Regions from separate parts of the Homo sapiens genome. Here all the other regions are linked to region 1. The links are contacts of gene promoters, found by promoter capture Hi-C in blood cells and fetal thymus (Javierre and others, 2016). All regions are on one chromosome and are shown on one strand. Each heading gives the region's core, a stretch centred on a gene start or on the middle of the fragment in contact. The rest is flanking DNA. Distances are from core to core; before and after follow the strand shown.

What was found. Contacts are between HindIII fragments. The CHiCAGO score rates a contact against its expected background, and 5 or more counts as called.
Region 2: a fragment that was not itself captured here is called in contact with the fragment with the promoter of UTP25 in region 1 in 1 of 17 cell types (fetal thymus); the score reaches 6.1 in fetal thymus.
Region 3: a contact is called between a fragment that was not itself captured here and the fragment with the promoter of UTP25 in region 1, in 5 of 17 cell types (naive B cells, fetal thymus, total B cells and 2 more). The highest score is 8.7, in naive B cells.
Region 4: a contact is called between a fragment that was not itself captured here and the fragment with the promoter of UTP25 in region 1, in 1 of 17 cell types (total B cells). The highest score is 6.0, in total B cells.
Region 5: a fragment that was not itself captured here is called in contact with the fragment with the promoter of UTP25 in region 1 in 8 of 17 cell types (total CD4 T cells, naive B cells, fetal thymus and 5 more); the score reaches 7.1 in total CD4 T cells.
Region 6: a fragment that was not itself captured here is called in contact with the fragment with the promoter of UTP25 in region 1 in 8 of 17 cell types (naive B cells, total B cells, total CD8 T cells and 5 more); the score reaches 12.7 in naive B cells.

The regions. Positions count from the first base shown.
Region 1 is chr1:209,826,546-209,829,379 of GRCh38, reverse strand. It overlaps UTP25 (UTP25 small subunit processome component), which reads right to left and starts at 1,408. Exons shown (of 12, transcript NM_014388.7): 1 at 1,210-1,408. The coding sequence starts at 1,316. RefSeq lists an enhancer at 1,319-1,368. The HindIII fragment of the contact is 3,327 bases long and covers 1-2,489 here.
Region 2 is chr1:210,447,879-210,450,712 of GRCh38, reverse strand. All of the region lies in intron 7 of HHAT (hedgehog acyltransferase), which reads right to left. Among named protein-coding and RNA genes, the nearest start is that of HHAT, 120 kb to the right of the region's middle. The HindIII fragment of the contact is 3,806 bases long and covers 1-2,834 here.
Region 3 is chr1:210,406,530-210,409,363 of GRCh38, reverse strand. All of the region lies in intron 6 of HHAT (hedgehog acyltransferase), which reads right to left. Among named protein-coding and RNA genes, the nearest start is that of HHAT, 79 kb to the right of the region's middle. The HindIII fragment of the contact is 1,593 bases long and covers 611-2,203 here.
Region 4 is chr1:210,388,070-210,390,903 of GRCh38, reverse strand. All of the region lies in intron 4 of HHAT (hedgehog acyltransferase), which reads right to left. Among named protein-coding and RNA genes, the nearest start is that of HHAT, 61 kb to the right of the region's middle. The HindIII fragment of the contact is 7,905 bases long and covers 1-2,834 here.
Region 5 is chr1:210,368,651-210,371,484 of GRCh38, reverse strand. The region is part of intron 3 of HHAT (hedgehog acyltransferase); the gene reads right to left. Among named protein-coding and RNA genes, the nearest start is that of HHAT, 41 kb to the right of the region's middle. The HindIII fragment of the contact is 4,942 bases long and covers 1-2,834 here.
Region 6 is chr1:210,347,540-210,350,373 of GRCh38, reverse strand. It overlaps HHAT (hedgehog acyltransferase), which reads right to left. Exons shown (of 12, transcript NM_018194.6): 2 at 1,308-1,441. The coding sequence starts at 1,398. Among named protein-coding and RNA genes, the nearest start is that of HHAT, 20 kb to the right of the region's middle. The HindIII fragment of the contact is 279 bases long and covers 1,297-1,575 here.

The DNA.
Region 1 (2,834 bases), core at 159-2,658:
AACTACTAATACACTTAGTTCCTTATCGTAATTGCAAAGATCAATGATGTCCCAACAAATTCTTTAAAAACACACACAACATATGATGTGACTATAACTAACAATTTATTGTATATTTTCAAATGGCTAGAAGAGCGGATTTTCAATGTTCCCAACGCAAAGAATTGATGTTTGAGATGATGAATATGCTAATTACCCGGATTTGATCATTACACATTGGGTACATGTATTGTTATCAAAATATCACACTGTATCCCACAAATATGTACAATCATTTTATGTAAGTTAAAAATAATTATAAAAACAGGCCAAGCGCGGTGGTTCACGCCTGTAATTCCAGCACTTTGGGAGGCCAAGGCGGGCAGATCACCCGAGGTCAGTAGTTCGAGACCACCCTAGCTAACATGGTGAAACCCCGTCTCAACTAAAAATACAAAAAATTGATCGGGTGTGATGGCGGGCGCCTGTAATCCCAGCTACACGGGAAGCTGAGGCAGGAGAATCGCTTAAGCCCGGGAGACGGAGGTTGCAGTGAGCTGAGATCGCGCCACTGCACTCCAGCCTGGGCGACAAAGCGAGACTCTGTCTTAAAAAAAAAAAATTATATATATACATATATATATGTGTGTCTACAAAAAATTCCTAGATCTCTGACCACACAAAAATCCGCCCCCATAGCTGGGCGCGGTGGCTCACGCCTGTAATCCCAGCACTTTGGGAGGCCGAGGTGGGTGGATCACCTGAGGTCAGGAGTTCAAGACCAGCCTGGCCAACATGGTGAAACCCCATCTCTACTAAAAATACAAAAAATCAGCCGGGCTTGGTGGCGGGCGCCTGTAATCCCAGCTACACGGGAGGCTGAGGCAGGAGCATCGCTTGAACCCGGGAGGAGACAGAGGTTGCAGTGAGCCAAGATCGCGCCATTGCACTCCAGCCTGGGCGACAGAGCGAAACACCGTCTTAAAAAAAAAAAAAAAATCCTCCCCCACACAACGGGCGTGCCTCTTAGCAGGAAATTACAGGCTCAACAAAAAGGCCCGTGAAGCACTCCATCTCCCGGCGGGATGGCGCCAGAATCTCCCCGGCCGAGCACAGCGGGAGCCAGGGAATAGTGGGAAAAGGCCGGAGCAGCACTATCTGGGAGACCAGAGGACCAAACTCGAGGATACATCTCTGGCGACTGGGGAGCCCTGCCACGCCCCTTCAGACCTGTCATAGAAGGGATGCTCCTCGCCGAAATCTCGAAGATGTTTCTTCTGCTTTTTAGTTAGGGTGTTGAGTAGCTGGCTCTGGCTCCGGCTCCCGCGTTTGCCCATAGCGAAAACGTCAAGTTTGCCCACTTGCAAGAGTCGCGGTTTTCCACCAGGAAGTTGTCCAGTCAACACAAGCACGTGGGCTCGCTGACTGCGCTTTACGGCGAAAGCAAGGTGCCATAAAGCAGATCCGCTTTACGTCGCGCTCGTACGACAGGCTTAGAACATCCGGTTCCCGGTTCTGCCCCCTACCGCAGCTCTTTGAAAGCACGGGAGTTCGTTCACTAGTGTTCTCAGAGCCCTAGAACGTGGGCAGCTGGGCTTCCCGGGTTGCGTGAGTCGGGGGCATGAGCTTTGTGCTTGTGTTTTGGTTATGGAAATCAGTCTGCGTAAATGTGTAGTAGCGGAGATAGTCGAATGCAGTGACTTTACAGTATACTGCAATAAAAATATCAACCAACATTTAAGGGTGCCTGAACATCTCACTTCATCACCACAACAGTGTACAGATAGGTCTTGTTAATAAGCCTGGTGTTGCAGATAAGGAAACTGATGCTTAGAAAAGATAACACGCTAGCGGCCGGGCGCGGTGGCTCACGCCTGTAATCTCAACACTTTGGGAGGCCGAGATGGGCGGATCACCTGAGGTCAGGAGTTCGAGACCAGCATGGCCAAACATGGTGAAACCCCGTCTCTACTAAAAGTACAAAAATCAGCCGGGCGTGGTAGCGGGCGCCTGTAATCCCAGCTACTCAGGAGGTGAGGCAGGAGAATCGCTGGAACCCGGGAGGTGGAGGTTGCAATGAGCCGAGATCACTCCACTGCACTCCAGCCTACTCCAGCCTGGGCGACAAAAGCTAGACTCCATCTCGAAAAAAAAAAAAAAGAAGAAAAGAAAAGAAAAGATAACACGCTAGCAAGAGAAGAGAGAAAAACCTTAACTGATGCAACCACATGCTTTTACCCATTAGGGTCTGCCGCCTGTGTGTGTTATATCAATCATGGGGCCCACAAGTCTGAGATTCCCACCCTCACCCTATTCTCGCATTTTCTGAAAGTATTGGAAGAGTCCCCGCAAACAAATCTGTTCCAGCATTCCCCATTTAACAACAGCAGAAACACATCTAGAGAGGTAAAGTGACTTTACTGAAATCACCCCAGTCAATGCTAGAAAAGGCTGTGAAACCCAATCCAGTGTCTCATAACTGAACTCGGACAAAAGGGGATGGAAAAGCTTTTGAAGGTAAAGGAACCATCTTACATTTTGATCATGCTAGTAGTTACACCTTGTATACATAAGAAAAGTTAAACTGTACAGTTAAAATGGGTGAATTTTAATGTATTTAAATAACACCTAAATAAACAGGAAAAAGCAAAAATATAAAAGTAGACTCAGTATTCTAGGGATTTGCAAGTGTGCAGGGCTGCTTGAGACCACAGGATAAAGATGGTGAGATCCTTTTCCTAATAGTAACTTATGCTACCATGTTCTATAGAAACAGAGTGCTTAAATCATAAGCCGCAGAATTCACTTGAATATTTACGGTAAAACAGGAGCGTCCAAAATGAGAGAAATGAGAA
Region 2 (2,834 bases), core at 207-2,706, 620 kb before region 1:
CTGTTTGTACATTTTATCTATATATTTATTTAATATGTAGATTCATTATAAAATGTGCCCTCTGCTATTGTCACAGTCCTTGGGGTATGTAAAAAAAAAAAAAAAGATTTACAATGTACCAATTATAAAAGATATGGCCAGGTGCGGTAGCTCATGCCACTGCACTACAGCCTGGGCAACAGAGCAAGACTCCATCTCAAAAAAAATTTTTTTAAAAATAAGATACAAAATAATTTTTTAATCCTTCAGAATAGGAAAGTTGCACTCAGAACATCTTCCCTTTCACAGAAGAAATGTTTGAAAAGCAGGATGTATCCAAGGCTCCAGTGATCTATGCAGATCTTCCATACATTTTCCCCAGTTGGCACCCTTCCCAATAGCTTTAATGGCCATATCCTCACTGTTTCCCACCCCCCCCACCTGAGACGCAGTCTTGCTCTGTCGCCCAGGCTGGAGTGCAGTGGCGCAATCTTGGCTCACTGCAACCTCTGCCTCCCAGGTTGAAGCAATTCTCCTCCCTCAGCCTCCCAAGTAGCTGGAATTACAGGCGTCCACCATCATGCCCCGCTAATTTTTGTAGTTTTAGTAGAGATGGGGTTCACCATGTTGGCCAGGCTGGCTTTGAACTCCTGACCTTGTGATCCAACCACCTCGGCCTCCCAAAGTGCAGGATAACAGGGGTGAGCCACCACGCCAAGCCCATATTCTCACTGTTGAATCCCAAATACGTATCGCTAACTTTGATATTTCCCCCGAATTCCAGAACTGTGGATGCATCCTCCCTCTGGAAATCTCCACTTCCTCTCTGTCCCTGTGGCCCGACACAGCACCTGGCACCCAACATTTAGAGAGCGAATTAGCGAGTAGAAATTTCTTTATGGAGACCTAATGAAACTTTGATGAACTGATGTGAATTAAATGACCATCACTTTTTCAATGATCACAGTTACATTTGAGGAAGGTCAGCACTTACATAACTCACAATCATCTAGCCCGTCTAGCCTCCCTTAATATGCCCTGTGTCACAAAATTAGTAACAGTTTAGGACTGGAACACTCAGCTTCTCTCTCCCAATGAAAAGTAATTCATTACAGCCATGAAGGAGCAGAGGGAGGCTCCCTCTAAACCTGAGGACTCAGGGGAAGCAGCTCAGAAGTGAGATGTTTTGGAGGAATTAACTAGGTAAAGAAAACCTGAAGCAATGGCATAGACAAAGCATGAAGAAATGAACCATCCCAGCGCAGCTGGGGAGGAAAAAGTGTAGACGGGAATGGTGATGCAACTTCAGCGACGGGAAAGGCATGATCAGAAAGGGTCACACTCGTCAGCCACGAAGCACGACTTTATAGAGGAAGACCTGGGAAATCAAATAAGAAAATTATATGATTTATTTTGTGTTTTTGAAAGATTGGTCTGTTTAGAAAAAAAAAAAAAGTAGAGGATGAGCTTTGTTCCTAAGGGGGGAAAAGGCAGAAAAAGGAGCTAGATAGAGAAGACAGAACAGCATGGCCAGAGGCCAGAGTCTGAGTGTCAGACATGGCAGAGGGACCCGGGAGGTCCGACCACCAATTTTAAGCTGCTTGTGGAATTGTCTCCTAAACCTTTATTAAAGTCCTCTAACACACGCTGCATCTAAATGATTTTTGTTGGTGGTTGTGTGTGTCATGCATGGTGTGTGTGTACAAATTAAGAAAAATAGCCAAATGCCACATGAGAGCCAGGGTGATGTTCAGTGGGGACAGTGATATGATCCCCAAACAGAACCAATTCCATGTATGCATGAGGTGAGGGACAGAAGCGGTTCAGGAATAAATGTCTCAGGACAGCACTGAGCCCCGCTCCATCTAGGGAATAGAGAGTCAGGTCCACCTTATCTAGAAATTAAGGGGCTGGGAGACCCTCACTGCTGAAATCCACTGACAATCCAACCTACAGCCTATATATAAAAACATGTTCTACATAAAATCTGAAAACTAGAGTAAGTTGAGAATTTTTTTAATTTCACAGGAAAATTTAATGAAAAACAGTTTAAAGTAAGATTCAGGGAAATCATGAAAGCTGGGATGAGAATGGCTACTTTGGTAGACTCTCTCTCTCTGGTCTAGAAGCAACACCCATCCTGCCTCCTCCAATCTCAATACTTCGTAAATTGCCCTGGAGAGGCTGAATATTAGGCTAATTTGGTCTAATTTGAATTGCTTAAATGACTAGCTATCTTTTACTGCCACCTCCTGGCCCCTTCTAGTATGTCTACCCTAAACTATTACGCTAAGACTGATAAACCCTCATATGCACACACAAAATACCAATTACATTCAAGAATCTCTTAATTGCTGGGTGCAGTGGCTCACGTCTGTAATCCCAACACTTTGGGAAACTGAGGTGTGCAGATCACCTGAGGTCAGGAGTTCAAGACCAGCCTGGCCAACATAGTGAAACCCCGTCTCTACTAAAAATACAAAAATTAGCCAGGCATGGTGGCAGGCGCCTGCAGTCCCAGCTACTCAGGCAGCTGAGCCAGGAGAATCACTTGAACCAGGAAGGCAGAGGTTGCAGTGAGTACTGAGATCGAGCTACCGCATTACAGGCTGAGTGACAGAACGAGACTTCATCTCAAAAAAAAAAAAAAAAGAACCTCTAACCAAATAAACTGTCAAATTAAACTATCACCACATTGCAGATGGAAAGTTATGCTACCGAGTGGGAGTCCCTGATCGAGGCAGCTGGTCATCCAGCCACATCCCCTTCAAGGTGGCTGTACACTGACAGTCACCTCAGCCAGGGTCTGGGTCCTCCGCTTTGTGGGTCAGGAGCCTCATCTGTCAGCACCCTGA
Region 3 (2,834 bases), core at 158-2,657, 580 kb before region 1:
GACCTTCATGTCCACTAGGCCACACTCCATCCCCCTCTAACTCCTCTCACACACCAAGTCAGCGCAACAAGGCTCATGTCTTGATTCCCTTCACTCTATCTGCATTGTAATAGCCTCTCTTTGCCTCTGTTTCCCTGTCTGTAAAGTGGTCATGACAGTATCTCTCTCACAGGTTGTGAGGATTAAACAAGCTAGAATGGCCAGGCACAATGGTGTGTGCCTGTAATCCCAGCACTTTGGGAGGCCGAAGCAAGAGAATCACTTGAGGCCAGGAGTTTGAGACCAGCCTGGGCAACATAGCAAGACCTCATCTCTAGAAAAGTATTTTTAAAAAATTAGCCAGGTGTGGTGATGCATACCTATAGTCCTAGCTACTCAGGAGGCTGAGGTGGGAGGATCACTTGAGCTCGGGAGGCCAAAGCTACAGTGAGCTATGATTGCACCATTGCACTCCAACCTGGGTGTCAGAGTGAGACCATCTCAAACATTTTAAGTTAGAACGTATAAAGCCTGGCTCAGACTAAATGATCACCTAGTATATTTTATTACAATTAGCATGATTCCAGGTGCTCTCTAGAACCAGAGCCCATGCCAAGTACTAAACAAAGCTTCTGGGACATTGACTGCCTTGCACAGCTCTTGCCAGTCCCAGCAACTCTTGGACTGCCCCCATCCCTTTCCTGCAGCAGCTGCCTGGGTCTCTCTTCAAATAGATGGAACCAGCACACTGGCCTCTTCTGAGCCCAAGCATGGCCATGGCCCAGAGTCCCCTGCTGCTGTGCCTGCCTACCAGACTGGATACCCAGGGTCTCACTTCTGACCTAAACTACCCTAGAATTACACTTGCTTTCTGGCCAATCATCACAATAATAAAAGTAAGAGGCCGAGCATGGTGGCTCACACCTGTAACCCCAGCACTTTAGGAGGCCGAGGCGGGCGGATCACCTGAGGTCGGGAGTTCAAGACCAGCCTGGCCAACATGGTAAAACCCCATCTCTACTAAAAATACAAAAATCAGCTGGGTGCGTTGGTGCACGCCTATAATTCCAGCTACTTGGGAGGCTGAGGCACAAGAATCACTTGATACCAGGAGGTGGAGGTTGCGATGAGCTAAAGTTGTGCCACTGCACTCCAGCCTGGGCAACTGAGCCAGACTCTGTCTCAAATAATAATAAGAGTAAGAATTAACACTTTATAGTATTAACCTGTCAAACCACATTACCTATACACAATCATTTAATCCTCACAGCAATCCTGAGGGAGGCACTATTATTCTTCCCATTTCACTGATAAGAAGACTGAGGCATAAGTAAGGTAAGTAACTCAGCAAGCACTCTCAAGCCGAAGCACAGCAGGGATTCAAACCCTGGAGGGTGGGCTCCAGGACCTTTGCTCTCAACCTCCATGCCAAATTCCCTATTTGACCACTGGCTTCTCTAAGGTGGGAGAGCACAGTGCCCAGCAAGGAAGAGTCCCTGGCCCACCACCCTAAGGCTGCTCTTCTCCCCAGTGCCCACACCACACCAGTCAACCTCTTCAAGACGTAGTGGCCCCAGGCTTCAGGCTAAGCAAGTAAACACCATGTCCTTCCCTTCCCTAAGTCCCCCAGGATCCCTGTCTCACCGCTGACTTGGTATCCGAGTTCCACAGAAACGTGAGAGAAAAACAAATCAGGCCCATGTTCCTAAAACTCTAAATGCCACCAGAAATAGCCTTCAAGTTAAGGCACAGAGGCAAATTTTTACCTGTTCGTGACTAATTATGCAAATTTCACATGCTTTACATTGCAGAAGACAACGCTTCTATACCTCCCTCATTTTGTGTATGTAAATTGGGTGGAAGACACATTCTCCAGGTGTATGCCTAAAACTAACATTGTCATTTGATCTTTTGGAGTTTGCAGATACTGGGTGAAGATTTCCCGCTGGGGTTGGTTTCCACAATGGGGCACTGCTGCCCCCTGGTGGTGCAGCGTCATTCTCCTGCTCTACGTTATTTTTATGCATTGACCTGCCAGTCTAAGAACCATGCATTTCAATATTTCCAATCCTTATAGCTGAAGGCATTTCATGCATGCATTCATTCAAGCATTCATTCAGAGCAAATCTTACTTACTAGTTCTTCCAACTAGCTTTCTTTCTCCACCTCCCAGCCTTTTCCTTTTTGGCTTCTCTGAAAGAACCCTTTCACTGCAAGATAAGCTTTTTGGTTTAACCCCCTGCCCCTTTAAAGCCCCCTTCCCCACAGAAGGGAAGTTCCCCACAGCCACCTTCAGCAAGTGCAGAAACCTCCTGGCTTTTTAAATTTGCCCTATATCTTACTGAACATTTATCCTTTTCTAGAATGACTATTCTATGAATACTCCCCCAAACATAGAGGTTTTAATTTGCCCTTTCAAGTTCCCTGCTGTCAGCAATTGCTATTGTTTTAGAAGGGGTTAAAAAAGAAGAGAGAGAGAGGGAAGGAAAAGACATGGATAAAACCCAGAGTGTCTATACCTGGCCCCTACAGGAAGCAACCTGCCCCTTCACTTCCCCAGAATGAGACTCAAGAGAATGAGAACCCTTGGCTAAGGATTTAGGTGGAAGATAATCTTAAAGCGTGCCTCTGTGTGACACAGGACCCTGCTAGAGGCCTCTAATATTCTTACTAGACCCTAAAAGGCACAATTTGAAAAGGGAGGCCAGGCTCAAGCCTGTAATCCTAGCACTTTGGGAGGCTGAGGGCAGATTGCCTGACCTCAGGAGTTAGAGACAAGCCTGGGAAACATAGCAAAACCCGGTCTCTACTAAAAATACAAAAAATTAGCTGGACTTGCTGGTGCATGCCTGTAA
Region 4 (2,834 bases), core at 231-2,730, 560 kb before region 1:
TCAACCAATGAGTGGATAAAGATAATGTGGTATATATACACCATGGAATACTACTCAGTCATAAAGAGGAATGAAATAATGTCTTTTGCAGCAACTTGGTTGGAGCTGGAGGCCATTGTTCTAAGTGAAGTAACTCAGGAATGGAAAACCAAATATCCTATGTTCTCACTTATGAGTAGGAGGTAAGCTATGAAGACGCAAAGGCATAAGAATGTATAATGGACTTTGGGGCTTTGGAGGGAAAGGTTGTGGGGGTGAGGAATAAAAGACTACATATTGGCTACAGTATACATTGCTTGGGTGACAGGTACACTAAAATTTCATAAATCACCACTGAAGAATTTATCCATGTAACCAAAAACCACCTGTACCCCGAAAACTACTGAAAGAAAAAAAATCTCTCCCTACAATAATAGACCTATCTTTATGTTTATGATCACTTTTTGCTTTATATATTTTGAAGCAAATAAACTTAGAGTTTTAATATCTTCCTAATAAGAAACGAATTCTTTATTATTAAACAGCAGCCCTCTTTGTCACTAGTAATGCTCTTTGCTATTAATAAAACTGCACCAGTAGTTTGTCAGAGGGAGAGGGGGTTTAATATTTGCCTGGAATATCTTTTCATACCTTTTACTTTCAAATTATGTGTCCTTCTGTTTTAAGGATATCTAGCTAAGAAGAGCCTCTCTGAGCTCTGTTTTGGTTTTTGTTTTCCTCTATTTCTCTTTCTTTTTTTCATCTAGTCTGACAATCTTCATCTTTTTTGAGAATCCACTTATGTTGATTGCAATGACTGACATATTTAAACTTACTTCAACCATTTCTTTTATGCTTTCTCTTTGTCCCACTTTTCCATGTTTCATCTTTACTTTTAAGGATGAAATGTCTAACCAATGAAGCTCATCATATTTTAAAGGGAGAAAAAAAACTAATACTATCTTATTGATCCTATTTTACAGAGGACAACCGCTGTGGTTTGAATGTTTGTCCCCTCCACAACTGGTGCTGAAATTTAATCCCCAATGTGGCAATATTGTGAGGTACAGCCTTTAAGAGGCAATTGGATCATGAGAGCTCTGCCCTCATTAATGGATTAATTCATTCATCAGTTGTATTAGTCTGTTTACACACTGCTATAAAGAACTACCTGAGACTAGGTAAGTTATGAAGAAGAGGTTTAATTAACTCACACTTCCACAGACTTAACAGGAAGCATGACTGGAAGGCCTCAGGAAACTTACAATCATGCCAGAAGGCAAAGGGGAAGCAAACATATCTTACCGTGGCAGAGCAGAAGAGAGAATGAGCAAAGTGGGGAGTGCTAGACTTTCAAACAACGAGATCTCATAAGAACTCTATCAGGAGAACAATAAGGGGGAAGTCTGCCCCCATGATTCAGTCACCTCCCACCAGGCTCCTCCTGCAAGACGTGGGGATTACAATTTGACATGAGATTTGGGTAGGGACACAGAGCCAAACCATGTCATGAATTAATGAGTTATCACGGGAGTGGGACTGGTGGCTTTATAAGAAGAGGAAAAGAGACCTGAGCTATCATGCTCACCACGTGATCTCCTGCACTGCCTCAGGATTGCCGCGATGTCAGCAAGAAGGCCCTCACCAGATGTGGTGACTTGGACTTCCCAGCCTCCATAACTGTATAAATTCCTTTTCTTCATAAATTACTAAATAAGTTCATTTTCTTTATAAAATTACTCAGTTTTATGACTTCCCAGCCTCCATAACTGTATAAATTCCTTTTCTTCATAAATTACTAAATAAGTTCATTTTCTTTATAAAATTACTCAGTTTTATGTATTCTCTTATAAGCAACAAAAATGCACTAAGACCATAAATGAAGATGCAGTGAAAACCTTTGCTCAGGTTAGAAAGCTAATCGAACCAAGGACCAAACATGAGTAATACAATGTCTAGCACTCTTCCACTATGCAATTAACTTAGTACAATCCTCAAAGTACATCATCTTCCCCTCACAGAGGTAAAGAAAAACAGGTATGAAGCTATTTATTTTACATACGGGAAAACTGAGACTTATGGTAATAAGTCATTTACACATGGATGGGAAAACTTTGTTACGAATTAAAATGTTAAATTTCCAGAAGTTTTGAATTCTTGGGGAAAAAAAAACTAAACAGAAATTTGTGGGAGTAAAGAAAACCATTAATGAGGGCTGAGGTAGATATATTTATTACTAGCTTAGGAACAAAAAAAATTATTATTAGGTCTGCTCACAAAGTTAAATGAAATTTTAAAATATACTCAGATCTGACAACATCTAATATTTTGGATTTTGCCAGTTCAGCAGCCACTTGAGTACAAAAAAAAAATCAGTATCATATTCAAGAAGAAGTTAATATGCTGTCGGGATTTCCTATCTTCCAGGGTGAGGAGCAAGCCCAGGAAACGCCAATTTTCAGGAAAGAGTCAGAAACTGGCCCAAGTTAGGTGCGCATCTCTAACCACAGGACATCCTATTTCTGCATCTCACTTTCTGGTCTCAATCTCCAGAGGTTTCTGTTTCTCTTCTACTTCAGTTTTATCACCTGCGGGAACCTCTGAGAATCAAAACATTTTTCCTAGGTTGACTTCCAAATCAGGTTTTGGTTGTGTCTTGCTTTTATTCGGTAAATTTCCAAGCACAGACTTTTTCCTCCATCAGGAATCTATAGCAAGCAAGAAGTATTTATCAGAGGCCTCTGGGCAATACCCTGGCCCCCAGGTGACAGAAAGATCCTCCTGGCAGTATATCAGGTCCCTTGGTAGCTAGACCTGTGAAGAGGGTCTCAATCCTGCCTCACATAAAAGTAGTT
Region 5 (2,834 bases), core at 135-2,634, 540 kb before region 1:
CTCCAAAATGTCAGGGGCAAGAAACCCATGGATTAGGCCAGGCAGGGTGGCTCACACCTGTAATCCCAGCACTTTGGGAGGCCAAGGCAGGTGGATCACTTGAGGACAGGAGTTTGAGGCCAGCCTAGCCAGCATGTTGAAAACCTGTCTCTACTAAAAATACAAAAAGTTAGCCAAGTATGATGGCACATGCCTGTAGGCCCTGCTTGGGAGGCTGAGGCACGAGAATCGCTTGAACTTGGGAGGCAGAGGTTACAGTGAACCATGGTTGTGCCACTGCACTCTAACACAGGCAATAGAGTGAGACTCTGTCTCAAAAAAATAAATAAGAAAAAAAAGAAACCCATGATTGGTGATGGAAGGTCAGGTTTGCTTCCTTCTTGTGAACACAAAGAATGCCGGCTCTTTACCCATCAGTACATGACCTTTTGTCTAGTCTCATCCATGCTAGATTTTCTTCCTGACATGTAAATTTGCGGACAGGTAGGAAAAATGTAAGATGTTAGTGATTTCCTGGTGAGAACAGGAATAGGAATTGTAGCTCTCTGCCTAACGTAAAAATAGGATCTGCAGCCAGGTGTGGTGGTTCATGCCTGTAATCCCAGCACTTTGGGAGGCCAAGGCTGGTGGATCACGAGGTCAGGAGATCAAGACCATCCTAACTAATGCGGTGAAACCCCGTCTCTACTACAAATACAAAAACTTAGCTGGGCATGGTGGCACATGCCTGTAGTCCCAGCTACTCGGGAGGCTGAGGCAAGAGAATCGCTTGAACCCGGGAGGCGGAGGTTGCAGTGAGCCAAGATCATGTCACTGCACTCCAGCCTGGGTGACAGAGTGAGACTCCGTCTCCAAAAAAAAAAAAAAAAAAAAATAGCATCTGCAATGTGAATGGATAAACATCAAATTTGCTTATTAATTTTTAGCCACCAGGTACCCTGCTCTGTTCTCTCTCTCTTCTATCTAGTAGTTCATGGGAAATATTATTTGTTTCATTAAAAAGGTCCTTAAAGGCCAGATGCAGTGGCTCACACCTGTAATCCCAGCAATTTGAGAGGCCAAGATGGGTGGATCATGAGGTCAGGAGTTCAAGACCAGCCTGGCCAACATAGTGAAACTCCATCTCTACTAAAAATACAAAAATTAGCCAGGCATGGTGATGGGCACCTGTAATCCCAGGTACTTGGGAGGCTGAGGCAGGAGAATCGCTTGAACCCAGGAGGCAGAGGTTGCAGTGAGCCAAGATCATGCACTGCACTCCAGCCTGGGTGACACAGTGAGACTCTGCATTCAGGAAAAAAAAAAAAAAAAAAAAAAAAAAGTCATTGAAGAAGCTAGGAGAAAATAAGGTGAAGGTAGAATCAAGGGTTTAGCTCTGCAAAACTAACAGATCAAGAGTGTGTGTGTGTATATGTGTATGCAGAGAGAGAAGAGAAAGAAGAGAGAGACAGGGCAAGGCAGGAAAATCAGTCAGAGGGCTCCAGAAAGAGTCCACAGAACAAATGGCACCTGAAACCCTTCAATGACTGACCACTGCCTTCTGGATAAAGTCCAGACTCCGCATATGGCACTTCATGGCCTTTACGATCTATCCCCTCCCTGTCTTGAGTCATTTGCCCTCCTCACAACTCAACCTTCTAGCCAAGCCAAATTTATTTCACTCAAATCCAGGTCGTCAGGCATGCTATACCCTTCACCTACCTTTCCCGTCTCCCAGCCATCACCTCCCTTCAGTCCCTGCCGCTGGGGTTCTCTGCACCCTCTGTCTCTACAAGCCCCAGTGGCTGTTGCACCACCAGCTCACTGTCACATCATCACCTTCCCCCAAACTTCAGAGCCCACTTAGGACAGAGACTGAGCCTGGAATGTCACAGCATCCCTGGCACGTGGCCTGGAAGCTGCTTACACAGCAGGTGTGCATTTAACTCATGTGTTAAATGAGTCAAAATGGAATGTTGTTTTCCTGAAGTATTAAAATGCAGAGGCATTTATAAATAAGCCAAATCTTAAAAATCTTCATGGGCAAAGCATGAGTAGCTAAGAACTGTGTCTTTATAGAAGTACCTCTTTATCTATGTTCATAGTCATTCGTATTCAAGCTCCCGTCTGCCTCTGTCTCTTCTTCCTAAGCCTCCTCACAGGCAATGGAAAGTCCTCTCTGATTTTACTTCTGAAAGAACAGCTTATTTAGAGGTCTGCCCCAATTTCAGAAACCTGTCATGGGAAAATGTGTCCTCAGGAAAGAACAGAATTGATTACTTGTAACACTCTTCATAATGCATTAGGATTTTGAGAGCTCCTTTCAACAGCAGTCCCCCTCTACATGTAAATGTCTCTCTGTAGAACGTTACCTCCTTGCTACAGAGGGAGAATCAGCAATTCTTTTTTTTTTTCTTTCTTTTTTTTGAGACAGAGTTTCACTCTTGTTGCCCAGGCTGGAGTGCAATGGCGCAGGCTTGGCTCACTGCAACCTCCGCCTCCCGGGTTCAAGCGATTCTCCTGCCTCAGCCTCCCAAGTAGTTGGGATTATAGGCACCCGCCACCACATCCAGCTAATTTTTGTATTTTTAGTAGAGACGGAGTTTCACCATGTTGGCCAGACTGGTCGTGGACTCCTGACCTCAGGTGATCCGCCCACCTCGGCCTCCCAAAGTGCTGGGATTACAGGCGTGAGCCACTGTGCCCGACCAAGAATCAGTAATTCTTAATGCTAAAGGAAGGAATTATTCATCCATGGAAGAAAAAAGTAACAATAACCACAGTAACAGGTATTGTGTATCTATTCTGTACTAAGTACAAGCATGCTGGGTGTTTTCTGTCCATCACCTCTTTCT
Region 6 (2,834 bases), core at 187-2,686, 520 kb before region 1:
TCAGTTCTTCCCAACTTAATCTATAGATTCAATGCAACCACAATGAAAATCCTGGCAAATTCCATTGTCCGAATGTACCACAGTTTATTAGTCCATTTGCTGCTTAAGGACATCTTGATTGCTTCCAATTTTTAGCAATTATGAATAAAGCTGCTATAAACATCTTTATTTTATGGCTAAAGTTATTTTGTAGATATCAACAAATTGACTCTAAAGTTTATACAGACAGGCAAAAGACCCAGAATAGACAACACAAATAACAGTTAGAAGACTTCTATCCAACTTCAAGACTTAATGTAAAGCTACGGTAATCAAGACATTATGGTATTGGTGTAAGAATAGACACCTCCCATTTTCAATATACTTTATTTTTTAAAAGTAGTTTTAAAGCCAGGCATGGTGGTGCACTCCTGTAGTCCCAGCTACAGGGTGCAGTGGCTCACGCCTGTAATCCCAGCACTTTGGGAGGCTGAGGCAGGAGGATCACCTGAGGTCAGGAGTTTGAGATCAGCCTGGCCAACATGGTGAAACCACGTCTCTACTAAAAATACAAAAATTAGCCAGGCGTGGTGGTGGGCACCTGAAATCTCAGCTACTCAGGAGGCTGAGGTAGGACAATTGCTTGAATCCAGAAGGCAGAGGTTGCAGTGAGCCGAGATGGTACCATTGCTCTAGCCTGGGCGACAAGAGCGAAACTAGGTCTCAAAAAAAAAAAAAAAAAGTTTTAGGTAGCACATAGCCACCAACCTAAAGACTATTTCCCAGCCTCCCAGCTGTGCCCGTGGGACTCAGTGCTGGCCAGTTGGGTGTGAGCAGGAGTGACTAGTGCTCCTTGCCAAACTGCCGCTAAAATAAAGGAGGGCCCCCATTCCCCTTCCTTTGGGCTGGAATGTGACCTGATGATGATTTATCTCCAACACTCAGACAAAGGCAACACTAAAAATGACAGAAGAAGACAAAACGAACCCAGATCTAATATGTCTCAGAGGAGTAATGATGAAAGAGAAATTTAAGAGTTTACTTTGAATTCTGAACGCAAATCCCCTCCACGGCCTTCAATAGCTTTTGAATCAAACCCACCAATTATAGAAGACAAGCCACAGCATCACCTAAAAGACCTAGGTTTAGGGTAGAAAACTCAATGGACTCAGGTCACTGATTCAAACTATCCAAGACATGGGGAAGCAAATCAAGGCCCACATCATCTTGACACTATTGGATCATCTTCTTGAATCTTCCACCTCTGCTCCTTTTTTTGACAGGAGTTTCCTTGTTTGATAGGAGGTCTGAAAAGCTTGGGGCCTTACCTCTGGAGACTTTGTAAACTTCATAGAAGGAATAGAAGTGGAAGCCTAGTGAGGCAAGTAGGTAAAGTGCCAGTTCCCATCGGGGCAGCATGGCTCCTTGGCACGAAGGTTCCCGATGCCTACGCTGAGAGTTTCTGAGAAACAGAGACAAAACTTTAAGCCATGAACATGACACTAGAGAACAGCATCTAAACATCAATTCAGTTAGTTCACACTCCCGGAGACCCATCACTATTCAAGGTGATACAGACATAACCCCAATCAAGCTTCCTCCTCCCTGTGAACTTACTCCATCCTGCATCCAACACACACACACACACACACACACACGCACACATACACCACACATGTGCATCCTGCCTGTCAAAGGGGTCAGGTCTTTTCCTAGGAGTTCCCACAGTCTCCCATCAGAGTATACATCAGACAGTTCTCTACCCATTGCATAATATGCCTGTCTCTTCTGTGGAGTGGACCCTCAGATAGCAGGGACCATGATCTCTGACTCACCAGCCCCTAGCACAGTGCCTGGGATGTAGCAAGAAGGGACTACCAGGTGCTCTGTGAATAATAAATGGCTTCAAAAAGTCTGAAAAGCACAAACAGTATACAAACCTCTAAATCAACAGGTTCACCATCCTTGTTGTCCCTTTCAAGTATCATACTATAGGCCAGGCATGGTGGCTCATGCCTGTAATCCTAACACTTTGGGAGGCCAAGATGGGAGGATCACTTGAGGCCAGGAGTTCGAGACCAGCCTGGGCAACATAGCCAGATCCCCTCTCTAAAAGCAATAATAAAATAAAAACTTAAAATCAGCTGTCTGCCATGCATCTATGCACTTTATTTATGTATTTTTGGAGACAGGGTCTATGTTTCCCAGGCTGATCTTGATTTCCTGGCCTCAAGTGATCCTCCCACCTCAGCCTCCTGAGTAGCTGGGTTTATAGGCACAAGCCACTGTGCCAGGCCTCATCTGTACATTTCTTAAAGGGCAGTTAATGACATAATCACAGACATCTGTGACAGACACTGCTTGTTACCCACCGCCCCTCACTACCCCTTTTCAGAATTCAGTCTCTCTTCTTACACATCAATTAAAATTTCCTCTGGACACCAACACTACACTGTAGCTAAGTGTGGACACCTGAATAGCTCCATTCAAAAGGGTGTGAGTGAAGGGACATGGCTGTGGCCATCTCTTTCTTTCCCTCCCTTTCCTGTTGAACAGAATTGGAACAGCCTCCGTGGATGAAGAGGTGAAAGCCACATGGACAAGACAGAGGCCTCTCAGTCCCCAAATCCAGGTACCACCCCCAAGCCCCAAAGTGCCCCAGACTACTTAGATCTAGACTGTTACAGGAAAGAGAAATGCATTTCTAGGTTGTTTAAGCCTCTCCTATTCTAGATCTCTCCATCATGGCAGCCATGACTATACTCTAAGTAATAGAGAAGGTATAGGAAAGTTAGGTCCTAAAATTCAGCAAATTAAATGATTCCAAATGTTCCAAGTAACAAAGAGTTCACTAA